Regions from separate parts of the Homo sapiens genome. Here regions 2, 3, 4, 5 and 6 are each linked to region 1. Evidence: promoter capture Hi-C in 16 types of primary human blood cells and fetal thymus (Javierre and others, 2016). All regions are on one chromosome and are shown on one strand. Each heading gives the region's core, a stretch centred on a gene start or on the middle of the fragment in contact. The rest is flanking DNA. Distances are from core to core; before and after follow the strand shown. Region 1 holds the start of HSPA4 (heat shock protein family A (Hsp70) member 4). Region 2 holds the start of C5orf24 (chromosome 5 open reading frame 24). Region 3 holds the start of DDX46 (DEAD-box helicase 46). Region 4 overlaps SAR1B (secretion associated Ras related GTPase 1B). Region 5 holds the start of UBE2B (ubiquitin conjugating enzyme E2 B). Region 6 holds the start of PPP2CA (protein phosphatase 2 catalytic subunit alpha).

Region 1 (2,766 bases), core at 106-2,605:
CCCTGTCTGTCTCAAAAAAGAAAAAAAAAAAAAAAAAAAGAAGAGAGACCCTGAATGGCAAATAATACAGAACTTCTTACAAGATTTTGTCTAAGAACACGACAACGGATTAAAATGTATCTACAAGTATTCAAAAGGCAGACACTGTAACCAGTGAAAGACCTGAGTGACCCACCATTTTTTAGAACTGTGTCTATGCTGGTCCCAAAACTTACTATGGGTTCTAGAAGTCAAGGCGGGCCCTTGAGCCACTAACAATTGTGGCCAACACACTGGTTAGAATGCATTATCGTTAAAGTGCAACCCTATTGAGGGGTTAACGCGCACAAAACAGAGAGTGACCCAATATAGCACAATATCCCGAAATAATGTGGAAAACAAAAGCGATTGCAAAGTTATCATAAGAGCACCGATTTTATTAAATTCCTATCCGTGCCAACCCAATCTCAAGACCCCGAGTCCATCCGGAACCCGTGCCTGAGGCTGCTCCAGCTCGCTCTCTTCCGGGCGCTGCCCCGCCCCCACTCACGTGGGACGCTGACCGCTCCACGGTCTCGCGGCTGGCAAGCCCCAGAACCCGTTCGATTCAACTATTATTAAGCGCCTGCTGTGTGCAAAGTTCTGAGCTTTCTGTTGGACTCAAAAGACTCAGTACGACCTGGGCCTGGTCTCTGCCCTCAAGAAAAGGACCGCGATCCGTTTACATCCTAGGCCTGCAGTCCTTCCAGTTCCTACCCGTGCCCTCCGCTGGTCCGAGTACCGGCCAGAAGCCTTTCTTCGGCCGACGGGCCACCGGGGAAAAGGCCCTCGCGCTTAGCACACACCCACGCTCATAGTGGGCCGCGGCCCCTAGTGTCCTAATACCTACTGGGGGTCCCTGACCTACCGGGACCTCGGCTCGGAACGGAGGCGACTCCTCGGCCCGCGTTCCCCAAGCAGCGAGGGTCCCAGACTGGAACAAGCATTATCTCCTAACCCCAGTGCACGCGGCAGGCCCGGCCCACACTTACGGCGTGCAGCGGTCGCTATACTCATTAGCGATAGTCTCGATGCCGCCGGCGCGGGCCACAGCGACGTAGCAGCTCTGGAAGCCCAGGTCTATGCCCACCACCGACATGGCGCCGGCTACTGCTCGGGCTCGGGCCCGGGTCCGGCCACCGAGACAGGACACGGACCCCCGGCGGGGCTAGCGAGTGGAAAGCAGGCCTCTTGGGCCGAGGCTACTGAGGGGCTTGCGGTGTCCACGCGAGCGCCTAAGTCCTTCCAGTGGGTACTGCAACCGAGAGCGCTGCTCAGGCCGGCTCCGGCTCAGTGGCCGCAGAGGAGGCGCCGGTAGCGGGGGCGGAGAAGATCTCGAAAGATCTCGTTGCGACGAGAGCGGAGCCGCAGCACCAGAGCTACGAAAGAACGGGATGTTCTCGCGATATCCCGGCTCAGGCGCTTTTCCCCTTGAGGCCCCGCCCCCAGTACGTCTGAATACGTCACGTCCTGGCTCGAGAACCTGGGAAAGGACTGGGTGGCTGAAAGATGGCTGGAAAGCGCATTTAGCCAACCGAGCCTGCGCATGGAACCTGCGGCGCTGCACAGCTGCATAGAGATGTGGAGCACCTCCCTTTACCGTAGAAAGTAGGCGAGCCAGCTCGAGGCACTATACTGAGGAAGCGCTGCGGCCTACTTCCGCCGTTTTTCTTAACATCAAAGAAACTTCCGGTAGTGGGGTGTCTTGCATTCCACCGTGTCGGTGCCCCAGAATGAGACGCAAGCTGATCTGCAGATCCCGCAGGGTGCCTTCTGCTCTTTTCGGGGCAGGTTGGCCGGTAGGGGAGAAGGCCGCCATTGGAACGCGGCCTTTATGTCGGGTTCTCTCAAGAGTCTAAGATCGCACCCTCACCAGCGGAGGGAAGGAGCCCACTCCCAGCCACACCGCTTTGTTTTCTTTCGCTTAGCCTTGTTGCGCCGTTCTCTAAGCCACTCATGTCCTTAGATCAGATTGAGGGGCCCGCAGGATTTAAGCCTTTAATCCACAGCACATTCCAAGCACCTACCCGGTGGTAGGCCCTAACAAGGAACACAGGCAAGTGACACGCTGCCTGGCCTGAAAGGTCCGCTCAGACCTTTACATGAAGTTAATAAATGTTAAGCTTCAGGGCCCCTCGCTTGTATGGCCTCCTGGGAGAATAGATAGTTGCTGAGTTGTGGAGAGGGGAAGCCAGCTTGAGATTAGGAAGCAAATCTATGTAAGCATTTCTAATAAATTACCCAGAGAGATCTAAGGAGAATCTGAATCTCCAAGTCTCTAGTAATGTGTTGTGATTTGTCGTTTTAATTATTTGTTTTGTGTATTTGTAGGGCCCCCCAATGGTATATAAGTTTCACCTCTGCAAAACCTGGATCATCCCCATCATGAGGGTGGCTAAACAAGTAAAGGTGACCCCAGTACAGAATGGCGAGTGCTATATGCACAGAATGGTGGAGACTAGGACAACTTCCCAGAAAAGGAAAAGGCTGTGTTCAAGTTTGGAAAACTAGCAATAGAGACCATAGTTTAAGGACTAAAAAGAAATTCTCCGTTGCTGGAGGGTACATCATGAGTTGAAGGTCTCAAGGCTAGAGTACCTGCCCTTCAGCCATTTTAAAAGTGAATGAGCAAAGAAGAAATTACATTGCCCTGGTATGCCCTTCCCTTTAAATACCTGCATTTCCTGCCACCTCCGGAGGTACTTCACTCTATAGGAGCAACCCCAAACCCGGGTTGATTACCATTAA
Region 2 (2,766 bases), core at 154-2,653, 1.8 Mb before region 1:
GTAACTCCAGCTACTCCAGAGGCTGAGGCAGGAGAATCGCTTGAACCCAAAGGCGGAGGTTGCAGTGAGCCGAGTTCGTGCCACTGTACTCCAGCCTAGGAAACAGACTCCATCTCAGGAAAAAAAAAAAAAAAATAGGATGAATACTACATTTCCAGACAGCGTGGACTGAATAGAAGCCAAGAGTTATAGAACAGGTTGTGTAGACTATCAAAGGTTAAAGATCATCTTTTTAAATAGTTACTGAAGCCGGGTGCAGTGGCTCACGCCTGTAATCCCAGCACTTTGGGAGGTTGAGAAGGGTGGATCACGAGGTCAGCAGTTCGAGACCAGCCTGGTCAACATGGTTAAACACCATCTTTACTAAAAATACAAAAATTAGCTGGGTGTGGTGGCGCATGCCTATAATCCCAGCTACTTGGGAGGCTGAGGCAGGAGAATTGCTTGAACCCGGGAGGCAGAGGTTGCAGTGAGCCGCGATCGCGCCACTGTACTCCAGCCTGGGGGACAGAGTGAGACTCCGTTTCAAAAAAAACAAAACAAACAAAAACAACCAATAAATAGTTCCCTGAATGTACAGGAGTCAACTAAGAGCTTCTATATATTTGGACTGTGACTAAATTCGAATACTTAAAGCATAAGCTAAAACTTACCATCCTTGAAGTTGTTTTATTGTGTTTAACTCCTAAAGTTTAACCCCTAAAATGAGCCGTTCTTTATAGAACAATTCCTTTCTCTTCTCTTGAATGTGGCAGTCATTACTGCCAACATAAAGAAATGTAACTATTTTTAGTAACTTCACAAAGCATCCCTGAAGCTTTCTAAACATGGAGAAAGCTTCCTTTCAAGAAACCCAAGTTCTGTTCTCCAAAGATCAAAGATCACGTAATTCTCAGAGATTTATTTCAGGTCATTTGACTAACTATTATGTATAATCATATACGTTTCATAATTCTAAATGAAGATTTGCAACTCACCTCAATCACTCTGAAAGTCCATTCAGCAGAGGCCAATAGCCACGCACCCTGCCCCACCACGGAAAGTTTTGATAATAGGACGGCACATAAATAACGGCCTCCTTTGTCTTCTTCCTGCTCCTTAACTGTGCCCCACGGTGCACAAATAAGGACTCTCCTTATTTTGACACGAGGCGTTTAGAATGTATTACCTGTTGTGTGCTGAAAGCGACTATTAGCGTATTGGCAATAACAAGTTTGCAGAAGATGCACGCCACCCTAGAGAAAGGGTTGTGTACCCTCTAAAAAGCAAAATTCATAAGCCGCTATCCGTCCACTCGGAGTTCCGCAAGCGTAGAAGTCCACGGGCACTCCATCGCGACGCCGATCTCGAGCCGGCAGGCTTTTATTTAAAGGCGAAGGGCGGACTGCGGATTCTGACCTCTCAAAGAAAAGAAAGGGGGCTCCCTCCCCCCGCCGCAGGAGGAATGTCCCCCCGTAATGGCTCCACACCGGGGAAGAGCAGGCTACGTCCGGGGCCCCTCCTCTCACTCCGGCTACACTAGGGCCCCTTGGCAGGAGGCCTCTTCTCCCCGGTCAGCGAGGCGCCCGTTCTCGCCGCCGCCCTACCCCGCTCCCGGCCGGCTGACCAGCCCGCGCACCCCTACCTACCTCAGCCGCTCGTAGCCCGGCCCCTCGGCGCGTCTAGGGGCTTCCCAGCGGCTGGGAACCTCGTGCTGGCGCCGCTCCCTCCCCAGCCCGCCGCCTCTGCACGGTGCGGAGAACGGGCCAAGACGGAGTGGCAGGCAGCGAGGGCGGCGGCGAGGCAGGCGCTGGCTCCCAGCACCCGCCGCGGCCGCCGCGCACGGTCCTGCCCCGGACGCAGTACGAAGAGGCCGCTACCACCCTGTAGTGTTAGAGGCGGCGTGCGCGAGCTCGCGAGGGCCGCGCACGCACACGCTCACTCGCATCGCGAGACCCGATCTCCCGCCGCCAACCTGCACGCAAGCTTTGGGAGGGAGCCAGGCTGGCAGGCTGCGCTTGCGCGTCGTGGCCTTAAGCCTGAGCTGCTGGTGATCCGGCGTGGACCGTCCCCAGTGGCTGGGGTTGAGGAACCCACCAAATGGGGAATTAATAACTTCCTTACTTGTATTGGTTTTCACCACAATTCTGAGATGCTGGAACTCCTGCTGACCCCATTTCTTAGATACAGGACAAATAAATGATAGTCAGGGGAGTTGGGACTCTTCATGCCCAGGATCATGTGATAATGAAAAGCTTTATTTTATGGGACATCCTATGATCCACGCAGATTACAGGCGTAAGCCACCACGCCCCAGGAATTGTCGCATTCATTATTCCATAATCACAGGAAAGGATGGAACAACAAACTACCGCTATTATGTTTTTCTTGTGAGATATCTGACATATCAGTCACCTCACACAAACCCACTTAGAAGGGATTCATTTCCTCACTCCTTCCTCCTGTGAATTTCCAGATGTCAGAATGGAGAGGATCCAGAATTAGGGCAGCTACTGAAAGGGAGACACTTTATTAAGCAGTGGGAAGAGGCTAGAGGAGGATGCTTGCCCTTTTCCCCCATGTAATGAAGGATATTTGAGGATGGACAATTCATAGAACTGAGTTCTACCATAAGCACAGCCCTGAGCCAGGTACTGCCCTGCCAGTAGGAAAGAAAGGAGGAGAAACAACTTTTCTGGACAAACACACAAGCCAGGACACAACACACGAAACAAGCAAGCCCATTCATTCAAACTACTGAGGGACTGGAGACAGATAAGCCATGTG
Region 3 (2,766 bases), core at 127-2,626, 1.7 Mb before region 1:
GGCATGCCATCATCTTATCTCTACTTCAGAAGTGTCACTCTGGCTGTAGTGTAAGGGATCTAACAATTAGGAGAGCAACAGAGGAAGACAATCAATTCAGAGAATCAATTTAAAACAGATGTAGTAGTCTGGACAATAAATAATTAGGGCCTCAATTAAGTCAGGGACAACCAGAATGGGCAAAGGATGTAGAATCTAACAGGCTGTGGGTAGTGAGAGAGAAGAATGAGTCAAATAAATATCACTTTCAGATTTCTGGTCTGGACAGCCTTCCGGAGATTTAAAACACCGTCACAGGAATTTTCTGTAGTTAAAGAAATATTTTTTATCTTCATCCAGGTGATGATTACACGGTTTATATATTTGCTAAATTTCATCAAGCTTTACCCTTACGTTTTGTCCATTTCCCTGATTGTTAATTGTACCTCAACAAAGAACTGTTAGCACTAACAACAAAAGCCTTCATTGTTCCTAGACATAAAATATCTTTCAGTCATTGCTAAATACATAGCAAATAGTCATTTTTAACATAAAAATCTCAAGGTTCCTAACAATCTATCAACAATCTAAAGTTGTGATGAGATCTAATGAGTTCTAATAAGAGCTCATAGTCCACAACTTCAAAAGGACAGAAAAGCAGGTAACAAAGTTACCTGCTTAAATACGAAATCTATTTGCGAAGTAAATGCCCACGCAACAAGTATTTATTGTAGCCCAGTAAAAGCCTAGTCGTGTATAGTGCTGTCGATGCGGTAAAAATGTCTGCCCACACGCTCCTTTCAAGTAACTTGGGAAAAGATCATACGCGCACAAAGAACTAAAATACAGAATGACAGGAGTCGAGGAAATGTTGGAAACGCGAAGCAATAAGCAATCCAACTGGGATCACTTCTGACTGAAGTAATCAGGGCAGGCTCCCTTGAAGTGGCGGGATGTGGTGCCCAATCACTAACGTCCTGGAGGGTTGTTCCCGCTCCAGGGGCTCGAACCCTCTGATGGTAGTGCAGGGGAAGCCGTCGCTGGCCCAAACACAACCATTCCCTCAGCCGAGGTCCCCCAGCCCTTCCAATGCTCGCGGGGCAGCGCTGACCGCACGTGGGGCCGCGCCAGGCCTGGCCCGGCGGCCACCTCAACTCCCGCCTCTTCTCACGACCCCAAGAAGCCGCTCGCCCGCTAGCCCGCTCGGCGCTCTGCCTCACCGTGACTCCCGACCCATGCTGCCGACCGCGGGAATACTGGTGCCCTTGAGTACCACGCACAGGCGAACCGGACAAACAAGGAGGCTGAGCTGCCCTCAACGCCCGGCAAAGACCAGCGCTAAACACTAGCAGCACCTACAGCTGTGGCGGCCATCCCAGCGCGGCCAACGAAAACAGGACGTGCTGGCGCCGGCAGCCGAAGGAAGAGAAAAGCCGACCGGAAGCTGCCGCTCTTCCACAGCGCCCCACCTCGACTGGAGGACGCACAGCGCCGGCCCCATCGAAAGGTGATGCCTTCGCCCCGCCCAGTCTTCCCGGCGCCCGCACCACGCCCGGCTGATTAGTGCGATGGAGCGCAGCGCGTCAGCCTCGCCGGCCCGTGAGGGTGTTTCGCGCCAGAGCCAAAGAGGCGTCCTGGGCAGGCTGATGTCTGCCTTAATTTGCGCTAAATAATGCGGCAACTTTCTCCGTACACGCTCTTTATTCATGTATACATTCACTCATTTATTTATGTTGTCATATGCCAGGCTTGTGCTAGATCCTGGGGAGCTCACAGTCTATCCGGGAAACAGATGACTAAAGCCAGCACAGTGGCTCACGCCTGAAATCCCAGCACTTTGGGAGGCTGAGGCGGGAGGATCTATTGAGCCCAGGAATTCAAGACCTGGGCAACGTAGCCCTCGTCTCTGCAAAGAAAATAGTAATAATAATAGACTTGACTAAAAACACAAGCAGAAGTAATACAGCAAGGAGAGTCCACCATTGGAGACGGATTCAGAAAACACGTTTCCCTTGGAAGTGAACTCTGAGGTGAGATTTGAAGACCCGGTAGGTGTTAACCTAGTAGAGAACAAAGAGCTAAAAATACTTTGGCAAAAGATTAGTTCTCAACATTGCTTGCACTGGGAAGCTTAAAAATAAAACAAAAAAACAAAAAAAGGGCCAGCCATGGTGGCTCATGCCTATAATCCCAGCACTTTGGGAGGCCGAGGCAGGAGGATGGCTTGAGCCCAGGAATTCAAGACCTACCTGGGCAACATAGCGAGACCCTCTACAAAAAATAAGCAAAATAATTAGCCAGGTGTGCTGGCACGCCTGTGGTTCTAGCTACTTGGGAGGCTGAGGTGAGAGGATCATTTGAGCCAGGGAGGCTGAGGCAAGAAGATTACTTGAGCCCAGGAGTTTGAGGCTGCAGTGAGCTATGATGACTCCAGCCTGGGTAGCACAGAGAAATCTCATCTCTAAAATATTAGTAAATAAAATAGAAGCCTGGGTTCCACCCCTATGTTCTGATTTAATTGGCCTGGAGTGCTTCTTGTGCACTGGGAATTTTTAAGCTTCCCAGGTAATTCTGAAGTACAGTCAAGATTGAGAACATTATTCGAGAGTTTGGGCACCAAAAAAATGTATATGTATTGTCTCATGCAACACACACAGAAATGTTGAATTTTTTTTGTTTTTTTTTTTTGAGACGGAGTTTCGCTTTTGTTGCCCAGGCTGGAGTGCAATGGTGAGAGCTCAGCTCACCACAACCTCCACCTCCTGGGTTCAAGCGATTCTCCTGCCT
Region 4 (2,766 bases), core at 158-2,657, 1.6 Mb before region 1:
GACCGGTGGGCAGCAGCTATGGATCCCCTAGAAGGCGCACTTTTAGGGCCAAGACCTACTCTGAGTCCCTGCCTGTGGCACTGCGTGAAGGGGCGCCTGTTTTTCACCCCGGGGTTAGGCGGCGCGAGGGAGGACAGGTCTCATCCATGCTCCGCGGGGCCGTCTGATAGCCCTCGAGGCAGAACACTGCTGCTGTCAGACGCTTGGTCTTTTCAGGAAAGAACGAGGTGGCTGCAGGCAAGCCCCTTCCTTCCCCTGGGCCTCAGTTTCCTTACCTGGTAAGGTGAAGGTGGCGGGTCTCACTGACAGCTGAAGAGGCTGTGACACGGCCTGGTGTTTTCAGCGCTCCCAATTAGTGTAGAGGCAAATTGAGCTTCCTTACTAGTACTGGTTAACGTTTTCCGTAGCCCAAAGTCCCAGTTAAGTGGAAAAAAGATACACTGTTGAGAAAACTGTACTGATTTTTGTTTTAATTTTTTAAATTTTTGTTGTTGTTTTGAGACAGAGTTTCCCTCTTGTCGCCCAGGCTGGAGTGAAGTGGCACGATCTCGGCTTACTGCAAGCTCCGCCTCCCGGGTTCACGCCATTCTCCTGCCTCAGCCTCCCGAGTAGCTGGGACTACAGGTGCCCGCCACCACGCACCGCTAATTTTTTTGTATTTTTTAGTAGAGATGGGGTTTCACCGTGTTAGCCAGGATGGTCTCTTATCTCCTGACCTCGTGATCCGCCTGCCTCGGCCTCCCAAAGTGCTGGGATTATAGGCGTGAGCCACCGCATCCGGTCTAACTTTTCTATTTTTAGTAGAGATGGGATTTCTCTATGTTGGCCAGTCTGGTCTCCAACTCCTGACCTCAGGTGATCTGCTCGCCTCGGCCTCCCAAAGTGCTGGGATTAAAGGCATGAGCCACCTCAGTGGGCCACTGTACTGATTTTTAAGGTGTTGAAGCTTTTCCAAGAAGATTTGTTTTAAAACAGCTAAAACTTTGACATTGTTAGCTGAAAGAACCAAATTCGTCAGCAATTTAAGGTGTTTGGTACAGTGGACAAAATGAGGTGAAGAAGTCCTTTTAACTTGAAAAATTAAACATAGTATTATTTATTTGTGTGTTCTTACATCAGCCTCTATATTACTAAGTGTCTTTGAAGACGTCCTATATTCCGTGTTAAAGTATCAGTGAAGAGTAGGTCACATTGAAACAATGAAAGAAGGAAAGAAAAGGAACATTTATTGACTACTATGAGTAAGGCACTAGCTGTCATTTTACAGATGACAAATAAATGGTGGTGCCAGTATAGCAAAGCAACATGATTATCTACTATTATACCTTTCAGTAGACTTGTGTCTGTCACCAAAATGTTTTGAACTTAAAAAATGTTAAGATAGTTCATTGGCATTTTCTGAGTTTGTAGAAAAGGAAGGTGTCTTCATTTTAGAAATGTCAGAGATGCACTGTCAGTAATTACAAAGATTAGCAGTTTAAATAAGGTATATTTTAACCTTCCTTTGACTTGCATTATTGTACTGGAATAGAAATTCAAGCAAGAATTAAGAAAAAAGATGAGTCTAACAGAAATGAAAATCAGCCTGGGCAACATAGCAAGACCCAGTCTCTACATTAAAAAAAAAAAAATTTGCTGGGTGCAGGGCCCTGGCTAGCAGGCCAGTAGTCCCAGCTACTCGCTGCTGAGATGGGGGGTTTGCTTGAAGCCAGGTCAAGACTACAGTGACCTGTGATCATGCCACTGCACTCCAGCCTGGGTGAAAGAAAAAGACATTGTTGCTAAAAAAAAAAAAAAAAAAAAAAAAAAAAGAAAAAAAAAGAAATAGAAAAGGAAATGAAAATCATTGCCACATCATTTGAAGCTTACAAGTTGGAATGCTATATTAGTATTTCTTTTCTTTTTTCTTTTTTTTTTTTTTTGAGACGGAGTCTCGCTCTATCGCCCAGGCTGGAGTGCAGTGGCTCCAGGCTGACTGCAACCTCCACCTCCAGGGTTCAAGTGATTCTCCTGCCTCAGCCTCTCAAGTAGCTAGGATTACAGGCATGCACCACCACATCCTGCTGATTTTTGTATTTTTAGTAGAGATGGGGTTTCACCATGTTGGCCAGGCTGGTCTTGAACTCCCGAACTCAAGTGATCTGTCCGGCTTGGCCTCCTAAAGTGCTTGGATTACAGGCGTGAGCCACTGTGTCCTGCTATAGGTGTATTTCTACACTTACTTTTTTTTTTTTTTTTTTTTTTGAGATAGAGTTTCGCTCTTGTTGCCCAGGCTGGAGTGCAATGGCGTGATCTCCAGCTCACTGCAACCTCTGCCTCCTGGGTTCAAGCGATTCTCCTGCCTCAGCCTCCCGAGTAGCTGGGATTACAGGCATACACCACCACACTCAGCTAATCTTGTATTTTTAGTAGAAACAAGATTTTTCCTTTTTGGTCAGGCTGGTCTCGAACTCCCAACCTCAGGTGATCCGCCCCCCTCAGCCTCCCAAAGTGCTGGGATTACAGGCGTGAGCCACCTCCCCCAGCCTTCTACACTCATTTCGTTAAGTACTCACTTGGCTGAGCATAGTATTTCTACGCTCGCTCACTTTAAATACTCATCCCAACTCGGGGTTTCACTATGTTGGCCAGGCTGGTCTCGAACTCCTGACCTCAAGTGATCTGCCTGCCTTGGCCTCCTAAAGTGCTGAGATTACAGATATGAGCCACTGTGCCCAGCCCTCACCTTGGCCACTCTTAAAAATTTTCTACTATTTATATTTGTCA
Region 5 (2,766 bases), core at 106-2,605, 1.3 Mb before region 1:
GCTTTAGAAAGATGACTTTTGCACCAAAAAGGGCATCTCCTTTCAGAGACTGTAACCTCAATTAAAAATGCTACATTATATACACACACAAATACATATGCAGTTGTTTTTCATGGGGCATCATAATTTGCAACTAGTCCACATTAAAAAAATGGTTTTTAGTCAATCTCAAGCAAATTAGGCCACCACGAACAGAAGCCTTAGAAGAACTGCACTGCTTGACGCCTACCTTTAAATGGCTAAGAGAAGCTACGAATGAATTAAATAAGTTGGCCAAATCCAAGTGCCTCACATAGGCTTTATAATAGCTGAGAGGTGACTTCCTGAGCGACAAATCTAAGTTTTTATGCTAGATATTTTGTTCAATTAGGGCAGGTGTCCCCAGAAAAAATGTTAAGAAAAATGTGCAGAGTATCAAAATGATGTTTTCTCACTTATTTTTTCTATGTCTCTAAGTATCCAATAAAAGGTAAACAACGGAATAATCATTTTCTATCTCACAACCCCAATACCTCCTAACAAAACCCTATTTTATTTACCAAAGGAGGCCCAGGGAGTATCAGATTAGCGCCAGTCTAAGGGAAGGCATTTTTCCAGACTCGGGAGGCTATAGATAGGGGCTTTCTTCACCAGCCAGAGCTGAGTTCCAGAAAGCACTGGCAGCCGGGGTGGCCAGCTCTAAGGTCCCAGATCTCTAAGTCAGTTCCCAAGGTCCTTTCAGGCGGGCGGGGACAGAGTCGGGTTTCGGGGGATGGGTTAACCTCCGGGCCTCACGCACTGGACCCCACCCTCAGGGCACAAATGGAAAGGATTGGCAGGAGTCGGGAGAGGGGTTCGCCCCAACACGGCTCCTCGGAGAAGACGGCGGGGCCGTGAAACAAAGCTGACTGGTGCTGCCGGAGAGGAACAAGCTCCCGCAGGAGCTCACTTTGAGGGGACAAGAAGGGGGCGCCGCAGGGTGCAGGGGCGGGCGGATAATGTCTGATCGCCTGGGCGAGACGCCGGGCAGCTGGCCGAAATGGGCAGCAGGGAACCCTAGACCAGTCGATCGACACCGTTTTACTTTTTGTGGGGAGGGGAAGCAGTATCAAAATTTCTTCGGGCGCCAGAACGAGCGGCAAAGCTTATGGGAGTAGGGCCGAGGCTAGGACCCGGCTTCCGCCAGTCCCGCTGGGCCCACAGCCGGCCCTCTGAGGGTCACAAAGGGGAAGGTGTCTGGGATCCACGCCCTGCAGCCCCGCAGCTTTGAGGGGCCGTCATCTAGGCGAAGGTGAAGGCCCTTACCGCTTGAAATCCCGCATGAGCCTCCTCCGGGCCGGGGTCGACATGCTCCGCAGCTGCCCCGCGGTCAGTCTGAAAAAAAAAAAGTCCCGCGCAGCCCCCCCACCCCCCGGCGCGGCGGCCGAATCACTGTGGATCGCCGCCGCCGCCGCCGCCGCCGCCGCCGCCGAGACTGACAAACAACCCTGCAATGACGTCTCCCTCCGCCGCCTCCGGATCCCTCCGCCCTCCGCCGCTACCACAGTGTGAGTGCTGGGGGAGGAGGGGGCGGGACGCGGGAGCGCGCCTTCCCCGAGCCCTTCAGCGGGGCGCGGTTCCCCCTGGGCTTCCTGAAGTAATAGACAAATTTGTGTTCTCTGTGTTCAGACTAGAGGTTGTGGATTCAAAGACCACGAAACAGAAACACTATCCCGTCTCCCTCCCCGTCACTAGTTTAGGCTCGGCGGGGTGGAGAAAGAGGGACGCATCCGGGCCAGAGATTTCAGGGAAAGGAGGTGGGATGATGTAAGATCACGTGACTGCCCGCGGCCTTGTCAACAATCCACCCCTGAGTGGGAGGGGGAGAAGTATCTAGAACCACGTGTCCCTATGACGCGTTTAGAACGGGTCACGTGAGCGCCTCGCCTGGATGTGAGTTTCAGCCAGGTCTGTGAAGCGGGTTTAAGAGGGTGAGGGCGGGATAAACCTTTATTAGTTGTTTTCTGTTTATCACAGGTATAGAGACAACATTACCCAAGAGGTCATGGCAGAATCAACAGCTTGTTTTGTTTTCTTTAAACCGGGACCAAAAATAATTCCCCTCTGGTTGGTTCAGTGGCTTATTAACTCTGGTACTTGGGGCAAGAAGAGTGAGAGGATCGCACGATCTTCTAAGGCAGCCTTGAATACTGAGGCCCACACAACAATCTCCTGAAATGGTTCCTTGAAGCTACCAGATAGTCTTTCTGCTTTGCAGTGGGGTTTCTAGTATTGGAAATTCTGGGCAAATATTAAAGGATGGTGTATTATGCAGTTTTTCCTTTCTGGGTCTGCTTTCAATTGAAGATATGTGTCAGAGTCCGGGGACTTGCCTATGGTGGGGGAGTACCATTGTATTTTTAAGGAATGTGGGGGTGCAGTCTTCCAAGCATATCAATGAGTGGTTGGTTGTCAAAGAAACCTACAAATATGATTCATATTCTGGGGGAGAGCTCCGGCAGACATGAGTGAGGGTTATATATCTAGCCTGAGATAACTTCAGGTTTTCTACACTAGCAAGAAAGGTGCAAATGGGCCAGAAGGGCCCCCCACCACCAGGGGGTTCAGAGGTGTTGACCTCCCAAAGACCTTGAATATTTTCTGTGGTCACCGTCCTTCCCTCTATTGCTTCCAATTCCTACCTTCAGGACTTTGTTATACTAAGGACTCTGAGTACTTTTGTATCCATTTGGGGAACTGTTCAGTTCAACAGGTAAAGGGAGGGTGGAATGAGGACCTTAACATTGC
Region 6 (2,766 bases), core at 147-2,646, 1.2 Mb before region 1:
GCCTTCTTCAGCCTGTTGGTGGGGATGATGCCCTCAGAGCCGCAGAGTGAGCAGTCTCCTCCCAAGCATCGCTGAGCACTTGGGTGTGGAAGGGTTGCCTGATACTGAGGGTGGGGTTCCTGGAAGACAGGCGATCAGGTTCAGCTCTTGCCTTGCCCTTTATGGTTAAATGTTCTTTGGAAAGCTTCTATATCTTTCAAATCCTGGGGGCATTATGATCTCTCTTCTGCCTATCCCAAACCATCTTCAGCCAGTACTGTTGGGAGAATACAAGCTCCAGGGCATGGTCCCTGGTCCGTCTGGATGACCCCTCCGGATCTGGCATATAGCTGGCGCTCTATGGAACCAGATATTTATGTAAAAGCAGGGACAATGGAATGTGAAAACGTTTCGCAAACTCCAAAGCGATTCATAACCAGACAGAGGTCCAATCCTAGGGTATACGAGCTCTCTCTTTTAAGCACGTATCACAGCTGCTTCTCACGCCACCGAGACGCGGTCAGGACAGGTGCATCCATCTTCTCTGGGCTTCCCCTCTTGAAAGTAGGCCAGGGCGCGCAGGGGTTGAGGGTCTCTCATTCCCAGAGAGAATTAAACTTGGAGGAAAGCAACCACCGGCGAGGAGCGGGGCGCGTGGAAGCGAGCCGCGGTCCGAGGCCCAAAGAAAAGCCCAAGCCTCGCCCCCGCCATCGCGCCCGACGAGACACCTAGGTCCGGGGACGGGTGTGTGCCGCGGAAGTCAGGTGCACTGCGCAGCACTCCCCCGGTAGGTACACGCTCCTCCACCTACGAGTGACCTAATTACAAGGTGCCAGCCGCGCCCAGAGGTGGGGGTGGTTAATCCAAGCGGCCACTCGCTGCCCGTTCCTGCCCCCAAAGATGACGGAAACCCACACGATTACAGAGCCGCAGCACCCCAGATGAGCCACGGGGTCGCAATTCTCGTTTCCGTGATCGGACTGCCAGGCCCCAGGTGAGGAGCTGAGTTCATCACCAGAGCGGCCTTCCCAGGGGAACCAGTTACAGGCTGCCAGTGGCCCCGGCTTCCATCCGGTCTGCGCCTGCGCGCGGCCCAAGCCCTCGCCTCTCCTGGAATAGTGCTCAGGGATTAGTCCGGTTCGCCGCTGTGCGCACTGCGCATGCTCCAGCTCCATCCTTCCCTTCCCCCACCACCCCGCCCTCCGGGAGCCACGCCCAAAAAGTCAAGGCGCTTCAGTTACCAGCCGGCTACGTCGCGCCTGCGCTTTGACCCCCAGTTTGCGCCCCAACTCCGGTCGTGCGGCCGCCCGGGGAGGGCTCTGCAGTTGCGCAGCTTGCTCCCCGGCCCTTTTCCCCTCCGCTCCCCGCCGCCTCCTGACGCCGGGCGTGACGTCACCACGCCCGGCGGCCGCCATTACAGAGAGCCGAGCTCTGGAGCCTCAGCGAGCGGAGGAGGAGGCGCAGCGGCCGACGGCCGAGTACTGCGGTGAGAGCCAGCGGGCCAGCGCCAGCCTCAACAGCCGCCAGAAGTACACGAGGAACCGGCGGCGGCGTGTGCGTGTAGGCCCGTGTGCGGGCGGCGGCGCGGGAGCAGCGCGGAGCGGCAGCCGGCTGGGGCGGGTGGCATCATGGACGAGAAGGTGTTCACCAAGGAGCTGGACCAGTGGATCGAGCAGCTGAACGAGTGCAAGCAGCTGTCCGAGTCCCAGGTCAAGAGCCTCTGCGAGAAGGTGAGCTGTAGTACGGCTGCGGACAGCCGCCGCGGGGCCGAGCCCGCCGAGGAAAAGGCGGCCGTGAGGAGGGTGCAACATGGCGGAGGCCGCCGGTCCGGGCCCCCCGAGTCTCCGAGACCGGCGCCCATCCTGGCCGGCGGCGGCTTCCTAACGACCCGGCGCCCCCTGCCTCCCGCGCAGGGATTGGTTGCCGCCGCCGCCTAAAATGGCGCCGTTCACTCGACTCCTGGGCTTTTGAGTCAGCCGGCCTTGGCGCCAGACGAGGTGGCAGGGGGAGCGGAGACCCTGTGGGTCATCGTCAGGGACGGTTTTGAGGGTGAGCTGGCTTGGATTCTGCGGCTTGGGAATGGAGCCTGGGCCTCTCCGGTGGGCTGAGTAAGAGTCTTGCCGCTGGTACCCAGGCCTAGTTAGGTCCAGAGCTGCCCAGAGGATCCCCCAAAGGCAGTCTTGTTAGGCCGTATCCCAGAACATACCTAAAGGTCACACAGCTTTAGTACCCCTTGGTGGTTTGTATTAAACTCACCAAGCGATCTTCTCCAGAAATCAAGGTAAGGGGTGTCTTTAAGAATTTTTAAATTATTCTCTTAACCTAATTTTTACGAAGGTCATGGTGGTAGCTATAAGGGAGGAGTGTAACTTATTTTTCATAGTTGGAAGAAATCGGGAATTTGGTGAGTCATACTACATAAGGAGCTTTTGGATTGGAAATCAAGTGTCGGTTGAATATGATTTATATGCTGACTCAAAGCCTTCTCTAAGCTTAACACACTTGGCATTTTGCCGTTTATTTTTAAAATGAACAACATAAAATGGAAGAGCGGTAAATTTTGTATCTTTGTTGCAAAAATTACTTGATAGTATTTTGTGGCTGCAAGTAGTAGTAGTGATAATAACTGTCGACTGAGATTGTATTCCAGACATTGTGCTTAGTGTTTAAATAATGTCTCACATACACTGAAAATAGAATGTTGTAGTCCACTTAGTAACACTAAACTTTATATTAGCTAATTCCCTTTTGTTTTCCCCTGGGGGTTGGGGAAACAGGTAGTTAATT

What was found. Contacts are between HindIII fragments. The CHiCAGO score rates a contact against its expected background, and 5 or more counts as called.
Region 2: a contact is called between a fragment that was not itself captured here and the fragment with the promoter of HSPA4 in region 1, in 1 of 17 cell types (fetal thymus). The highest score is 7.3, in fetal thymus.
Region 3: the fragment with the promoter of DDX46 here is called in contact with the fragment with the promoter of HSPA4 in region 1 in 2 of 17 cell types (total CD8 T cells and naive CD8 T cells); the score reaches 8.0 in total CD8 T cells.
Region 4: a contact is called between a fragment that was not itself captured here and the fragment with the promoter of HSPA4 in region 1, in 1 of 17 cell types (monocytes). The highest score is 5.4, in monocytes.
Region 5: the fragment with the promoter of UBE2B here is called in contact with the fragment with the promoter of HSPA4 in region 1 in 2 of 17 cell types (fetal thymus and non-activated CD4 T cells); the score reaches 8.0 in fetal thymus.
Region 6: a contact is called between the fragment with the promoter of PPP2CA here and the fragment with the promoter of HSPA4 in region 1, in 1 of 17 cell types (fetal thymus). The highest score is 6.4, in fetal thymus.

What each region holds. Positions count from the first base shown.
Region 1 is chr5:133,050,602-133,053,367 of GRCh38, reverse strand. It overlaps HSPA4 (heat shock protein family A (Hsp70) member 4), which reads right to left and starts at 1,355. Exons shown (of 19, transcript NM_002154.4): 1 at 1,011-1,355. The coding sequence starts at 1,117. RefSeq lists enhancers at 1-141, 1,380-1,559, 1,750-1,799, 1,870-1,919, 1,106-2,068. The HindIII fragment of the contact is 9,846 bases long and covers 1-2,143 here.
Region 2 is chr5:134,845,075-134,847,840 of GRCh38, reverse strand. It overlaps C5orf24 (chromosome 5 open reading frame 24), which reads right to left and starts at 1,873. Exons shown (of 2, transcript NM_001135586.1): 1 at 1,629-1,873. RefSeq lists silencers at 1,448-1,497, 1,528-1,907 and an enhancer at 1,427-2,162. The HindIII fragment of the contact is 1,128 bases long and covers 840-1,967 here.
Region 3 is chr5:134,757,389-134,760,154 of GRCh38, reverse strand. DDX46 (DEAD-box helicase 46) reads right to left here and starts at 1,376. Exons shown (of 23, transcript NM_001300860.2): 1 at 1,200-1,376. The coding sequence starts at 1,216. RefSeq lists an enhancer at 1,112-1,601. The HindIII fragment of the contact is 1,728 bases long and covers 384-2,111 here.
Region 4 is chr5:134,629,935-134,632,700 of GRCh38, reverse strand. All of the region lies in intron 1 of SAR1B (secretion associated Ras related GTPase 1B), which reads left to right. Among named protein-coding and RNA genes, the nearest start is that of SAR1B, 1.5 kb to the left of the region's middle. RefSeq lists silencers at 1, 52-161. The HindIII fragment of the contact is 918 bases long and covers 949-1,866 here.
Region 5 is chr5:134,370,158-134,372,923 of GRCh38, reverse strand. It overlaps UBE2B (ubiquitin conjugating enzyme E2 B), which reads right to left and starts at 1,355. Exons shown (of 6, transcript NM_003337.4): 1 at 1,285-1,355. The coding sequence starts at 1,328. It also overlaps a transcript of CDKL3 not described here. RefSeq lists enhancers at 1,023-1,122, 2,063-2,132, 1,641-2,236 and a silencer at 1,543-1,592. The HindIII fragment of the contact is 3,578 bases long and covers 1,126-2,766 here.
Region 6 is chr5:134,224,703-134,227,468 of GRCh38, reverse strand. PPP2CA (protein phosphatase 2 catalytic subunit alpha) reads left to right here and starts at 1,396. Exons shown (of 7, transcript NM_002715.4): 1 at 1,396-1,709. The coding sequence starts at 1,608. It overlaps MIR3661 (microRNA 3661), which reads right to left and starts at 1,712; the gene lies at 1,617-1,712. PPP2CA-DT (PPP2CA divergent transcript) reads right to left here and starts at 1,059. Exons shown (of 1, transcript NR_186539.1): 1 at 1-1,059. RefSeq lists enhancers at 96-615, 457-616, 616-1,137, 1,138-1,657, 1,997-2,106. The HindIII fragment of the contact is 2,287 bases long and covers 187-2,473 here.